Regions from separate parts of the Homo sapiens genome. Here region 2 is linked to region 1. Evidence: promoter capture Hi-C in 16 types of primary human blood cells and fetal thymus (Javierre and others, 2016). All regions are on one chromosome and are shown on one strand. Each heading gives the region's core, a stretch centred on a gene start or on the middle of the fragment in contact. The rest is flanking DNA. Distances are from core to core; before and after follow the strand shown. Region 1 holds the start of RAB24 (RAB24, member RAS oncogene family). Region 2 overlaps PDLIM7 (PDZ and LIM domain 7).

What was found. Contacts are between HindIII fragments. The CHiCAGO score rates a contact against its expected background, and 5 or more counts as called.
Region 2: a contact is called between a fragment that was not itself captured here and the fragment with the promoter of RAB24 in region 1, in 2 of 17 cell types (non-activated CD4 T cells and monocytes). The highest score is 6.5, in non-activated CD4 T cells.

What each region holds. Positions count from the first base shown.
Region 1 is chr5:177,302,090-177,304,968 of GRCh38, reverse strand. It overlaps RAB24 (RAB24, member RAS oncogene family), which reads left to right and starts at 1,250. Exons shown (of 8, transcript NM_001031677.4): 1 at 1,250-1,797; 2 at 1,892-1,960; 3 at 2,139-2,217; 4 at 2,325-2,392; 5 at 2,473-2,572; 6 at 2,791-2,841. The coding sequence starts at 1,681. PRELID1 (PRELI domain containing 1) reads right to left here and starts at 1,170. Exons shown (of 5, transcript NM_013237.4): 1 at 892-1,170; 2 at 119-344. The coding sequence starts at 983. RefSeq lists enhancers at 40-109, 120-189, 340-399, 420-469, 580-679 and 2 more and silencers at 910-1,049, 1,160-1,239, 1,290-1,359. The HindIII fragment of the contact is 8,255 bases long and covers 381-2,879 here.
Region 2 is chr5:177,482,990-177,485,868 of GRCh38, reverse strand. PDLIM7 (PDZ and LIM domain 7) reads left to right here. Exons shown (of 13, transcript NM_005451.5): 11 at 1,679-1,799; 12 at 1,887-2,002; 13 at 2,139-2,475. The coding sequence ends at 2,225. Among named protein-coding and RNA genes, the nearest start is that of DBN1, 11 kb to the right of the region's middle. RefSeq lists enhancers at 422-1,137, 1,138-1,853. The HindIII fragment of the contact is 7,991 bases long and covers 1-2,879 here.

The sequences.
Region 1 (2,879 bases), core at 1-2,500:
CCTGCCTCCGGCCACAAAAGCTGCCTTATGGCTCTCTAGCCACATGTATCTGAGGAGCTCTCTATCTCGGGGGGAGGGGAGAGGGGGAGGTGCAGAATCACAACAGGAGGTGTCTCACCATCAGCCGGGCGTGGTTGATGTTCCAGGTGAAGGTAGTCATGGTCTGATTCTGTGGGTCCACAATAGAGTCCTCCAGGACGTACACCGAGTGAGCAACATTGGCAGGAAATAGTCGCTCGGCCCAGCGTGGCATCCTGTTGGTCTTGGTCAGGAGTCGCCGGGACAGCAGTTTCTGGTCAGGGGTCACCTCCCGGTGTACTATGTCTTCCGTCAAGACATGTTTGCTGCAGGTGTCAGGGTGAAGGTGACCCTCAGAAGCTTGCCCCTAAGAGACTGCCCGAGGGGATTCCCATTTGGAGGCTCCGGGCCTAGAGAGGCCACGCCTTCCCGTAACCTTGCAGGGTGGTATGTGCTATGGTTCAAACCAGAGTTAAGGGCCCATCCCAGGGCAAATTCCCACTCCCGCCATCTGACTGACCTGGATTCCTGCCTTCTAGCAGGAATGGACCTCATGATTTATTGCACCCCAGGAAAGCGCCACGGGCAGAGAAATAGGATTTCCAACTCCAAGATCCCTCCCAACTCCCATACTGCCGCCTCTTCTTGTCTCACCACACTGAGAAAAGAATCTTACACTAAGGTCTCAAGTAAACCACCACCCAGGCCCAACCTCCCTTCAGGACCTTGCAGGCCTGGCCTGGCCGCTTCCCCGATAAGGTCTACCTAGGATTCGATATCGAGTCCTTCCTGGTCCCAGTACTTGGGGGTTACCCATAATTCGATCTCCAGATAGCGAGATGGCGCGGTTTTGCTCTTCCAAATACCACGTACCTATAGGGATTCGGGTACCGCTGCCAGAAGGCGGCGAACACTTGGTCCCAGGAACTCCGGAGCACGCTCTGGCCCAGGAAATACTTCACCATCGTCCCGGCCGAAGCGGGCTCAGCACCCGCGCAGCATCAGGGGTGCGGAGCCTGGGAGGCACGCGAGGGCCGGGCCGGGCCGGGGCTCGGCGCACACCCGCCGCCAGGCTCGTAGCTCAGTCACCACCGCACCGCGCCCAAGCAGCTGCCGCCGCCGCCGCCGCCGCCATGAGTTGTCCGGCCGCGCGCCACTTCCGGCGCAGCCACACAGTAGCCACCGCTTCCGGCGCCCGCGCCACGTGACCTTGCGGCCCCGCCCCCTCGCCCTCTAGCCCCCTCCCGCGGGAGTCGCGGCGCTGCGGGTAGGAGCCGGGTTGCGGGAGACCCCAGGTTCGGTTGGGATTCCCAGCCAGAACGGAGCTTAAGCCGGGCAGGCGAGCGAATGACGGAGTAGCGAGCTGCACGGCGGCGTGCTGCGCTGTTGAGGACGCTGTCCCGCGCGCTCCCAGGCCGCCCCGAGGCTTGGGGTCTTCGAAGGATAATCGGCGCCCGGGGCCGAACAGCGGGGGCACACGGGGCGCTGCCGAAGTGCAAGGCCACGGCCAGAGCTCGAGCCCGACGCGCTGTCTGGAGTCGTAGGTTGGCGCCGTTTGGGGTCGGGGTCTGAGGCTTGGGCGCTGCCTGGGCCGAGCGGAGATCGGGGTTTGCCTCCCGTCCCCGCTCAGGACCCTGACGTGGCTGAAGCGGCCCCGGGAGCATGAGCGGGCAGCGCGTGGACGTCAAGGTGGTGATGCTGGGCAAGGAGTACGTGGGCAAGACTAGCCTGGTGGAGCGCTACGTGCACGACCGCTTTCTGGTGGGGCCTTATCAGAACGTGAGTGCATCCGGAGGGGCCAGGCACGGTGGGCGGGGGAGTGGGGGGCCGGTAATCTGCACCTATGGCCCCGATCTCTTCCCTCTCGTTGCAGACCATCGGGGCCGCCTTCGTGGCCAAGGTGATGTCGGTCGGAGACCGGACTGTGACATTAGGTATTTGGGTAAGTCCCCCGGCCATCTATTCTTGGGAGACTCATTCCTGAGGAGGTGTAGGTCCTGCCTATTACTGGTTGATTTGTGGCCTCACAGACCCATTTCTCATAGACCCGTTTCCTTATCTGGAAAATAGCGGGGTCTGGAGAACGTGGCCTTAAGTTTGACTCAGGCCTTACTCTTTAGGACACAGCAGGCTCTGAGCGCTATGAGGCCATGAGTAGAATCTACTATCGGGGTGCCAAGGCTGCCATCGTCTGCTATGGTAAGGGGGGGGGGGGTTTGGGCTGTCTCACAAGAAAAGATGGGTGCCAGGCTAGCCAGAGAACAGCCCTTGACCACTTGGTTGTCTCCTGCATGCCGCACACCAAGACCTCACAGACAGCAGCAGCTTTGAGCGAGCAAAGTTCTGGGTGAAGGAACTGCGCAGCCTAGAGGAGGTAGGTGAACAGACCTCACTAGAACACTAGGGGCTGGGGTTTTGTTGGCCTGTGGAGGTGACCCTTGTCTTCTGCCTCAGGGCTGCCAAATCTACTTATGTGGCACCAAGAGTGACCTGCTGGAAGAAGACCGGAGGCGTCGACGTGTGGACTTCCACGACGTCCAGGACTATGCAGACAGTAGCTGCTCCTCAGCCCTTTGGGGGGTGGGGGTGTGTGGCTGTCTGGGTGGATCAAAGAAAATAGGGACTGCCTTGGCTGCCAGGGCAAGGTGCTCTAGGAGGTCTTCCTGGCCTCCTTGAACTGTGGGGTCCAGGAGACTCCCTGAACTGCTAGCCCTCCCTTTTGTCTGTTTATCTAATTCTCAGGTATGAGGCTTTAGTCACTTCTCTTTACAGATATCAAAGCTCAGCTCTTTGAAACATCCAGCAAGACAGGCCAGAGTGTGGGTGAGTGCTGTGCTGGAGCCTCACAGCAGGAACATGCA
Region 2 (2,879 bases), core at 197-2,696, 180 kb before region 1:
GACTAGAGGTGCCCACCAGCATGCTCAGCAGATTTTTAAATCTTTTTGTAGAGATGAGGTTTTGCTATGTTGCCCAGGCTGGTCTCGAACTCCTGGCCTCGAGCGATCCTCCCACCTTGGCCTCCCAAAGCACTGGGATTACAGACGTGAGCCACTGCGCCCAGCAGATTTCTCTTTAACACCTAGATTTCAGCCTGAGCCAGGCAGGCATTCCTGAATGAACCAGTAGTACTGCTCCCAGAAGAAGAGGTCCTCCTCCGTGTGACACAGTCCCCACTTGGCCCTTGCAGGGATTGGATCTGGGATCCCTGGATTTAAACTCAGGGCCATCCTCATAACAGCCTCACAAGGCTGGGATTAGCTTCCCAGTTCACAAGGGAAGAAACCAAGACTTGAGAAGGTCAAGGTCTGGCCAGACCCACACATCTTGGACCCTCATACCGCCTCGAGGCCCCATGCTGCCCTCTGCCTGCTCCAGATGTGAATACTGCTGGCCCTGGCTGGCCCCGGCTGGCCCCGAGGGTCCTAGGGATGAACAGCCCAGCCCAGGGAGAGCTCAGCCCCTTGTGCCTCTGCCCCTTCCCACCTCCTGCGGAGGCCAGTCGACTCACCCACAAAGGGCCAGGCACTGTGGGGATAGATCAGCTAACAAAACAGTTGATGCTTCCTGCCCTTCTGGGCCTTACATTTTGGCTGGAAGAAGAGGGGAGAGGCAGACTGTAAGCAATAAGCGCAATAAGTAGGTTGCCTGGAAGTAATGTTAGATCACGTTACGGAAAACAGGAAAGAGCAGAGCGACAAGTGCTGGGGTGCGTGGTGCAGGGAAGGCAGCTGGCTGCTGCTGGTGTGGTCAGAGTGGGCCCTCATGGAGAAGACTGCATTCGAGCAGAAACTTGAAGGGGGTGAGGGGTGAGCCTAGAGATATCTGGGGCAGAGCAGTCCAGGCAGAGGGGACAGCCGGTGTCAAGCCCAGGACAGGAGTGTGCCTGGTGTGCCAGTTTCAGGCAAGAGGCCAGTGTGCAGAGGCAAGGTGAGAACGCAAGGGAGAGCAGTGGCGGAGACGGTTGGGAACGAGGTCAGACCTGCTGGCCTCCAGCCTCTGCATGGGGCTTGGCTCTTGCTGGGAGCAATGGGAAGCAGTACACAGTTTCATGCAGGGGGAGAAGGCCTGTCTTGGGTTGCAGGGGCACGCTGTGGCAGCTGGGATCAGAGAGAGGAGCTTGTAGGCCAGTTGTTATGTGGTCCCACGGGCCAGATGGCCATGGCTTACCTCACTTCAGGGAGGCTGTGAGAAGCACTCAGAATCTGGATGTGCCTTGGGGGTGGGCCCCACTGGATTTCCTGGTGGACCTGGTGTGGGGTGTGAGAGGAGGGTGTGTTTGGCTGCAGCAGACAGGAGAATGGAGTTGCCATCCGCGTGATGGGGATGGCTGTGGGAGGAGAGGTTTGGGGTGAGGGAATCAGGAACTGAGTGCTGGACATGGCAAGTCTGAAGGCGCAGTGGTCGTCCACTCAGAGACCTTGGAGTTGGAGATGGAGGTGTGGGAGTCCTGAACAGTTAGATGTAGTGTTTACCGCGAGAAGGAACAGGGCTTGCGGCCAGCCCTCCTGTGTTCCCGTGACCCAGGGCAGGGCAGGAGGGGCCTGAGCCTGCCGAGTGACTGGGACCTCCTTCCAGGAGATCATGCACGCCCTGAAGATGACCTGGCACGTGCACTGCTTTACCTGTGCTGCCTGCAAGACGCCCATCCGGAACAGGGCCTTCTACATGGAGGAGGGCGTGCCCTATTGCGAGCGAGGTACCCACTGGCCAGTGAGGGTGAGGAGGGATGGTGCATGGGGCAGGCATGAATCCAGGTCCTCTTTCTCTCTGCCCCCATTCTCAGACTATGAGAAGATGTTTGGCACGAAATGCCATGGCTGTGACTTCAAGATCGACGCTGGGGACCGCTTCCTGGAGGCCCTGGGCTTCAGCTGGCATGACACCTGCTTCGTCTGTGCGGTGAGAGCCCCGCCCCTCGAACTGAGCCCCAAGCCCACCGGCCCTCTGTTCATTCCCCAGGAGATGCAGGAGAAGTTGGGAAGGGGCCTCTCCTGCTGCCCCCAACCCCATGTGACTGGGCCTTTGCTGTCCTTAGATATGTCAGATCAACCTGGAAGGAAAGACCTTCTACTCCAAGAAGGACAGGCCTCTCTGCAAGAGCCATGCCTTCTCTCATGTGTGAGCCCCTTCTGCCCACAGCTGCCGCGGTGGCCCCTAGCCTGAGGGGCCTGGAGTCGTGGCCCTGCATTTCTGGGTAGGGCTGGCAATGGTTGCCTTAACCCTGGCTCCTGGCCCGAGCCTGGGGCTCCCTGGGCCCTGCCCCACCCACCTTATCCTCCCACCCCACTCCCTCCACCACCACAGCACACCGGTGCTGGCCACACCAGCCCCCTTTCACCTCCAGTGCCACAATAAACCTGTACCCAGCTGTGTCTTGTGTGCCCTTCCCCTGTGCATCCGGAGGGGCAGAATTTGAGGCACGTGGCAGGGTGGAGAGTAAGATGGTTTTCTTGGGCTGGCCATCTGGGTGGTCCTCGTGATGCAGACATGGCGGGCTCATGGTTAGTGGAGGAGGTACAGGCGAGACCCCATGTGCCAGGCCCGGTGCCCACAGACATGAGGGGAGCCACTGGTCTGGCCTGGCTTGGAGGTTAGAGAAGGGTAGTTAGGAAGGGTAGTTAGCATGGTGGCTCATGCCTGTGATCCCAGCACTTTGGAAGGCCAAGGTGGGCAGATCGCTTGAGGTCAGGAGTTCGAGACCTCATGGCCAACACGGTGAAACAGCGTCTCTAGTAAAAATACAAAAATTAGCCGAGTGTGGTGGGGCATGCCTGTA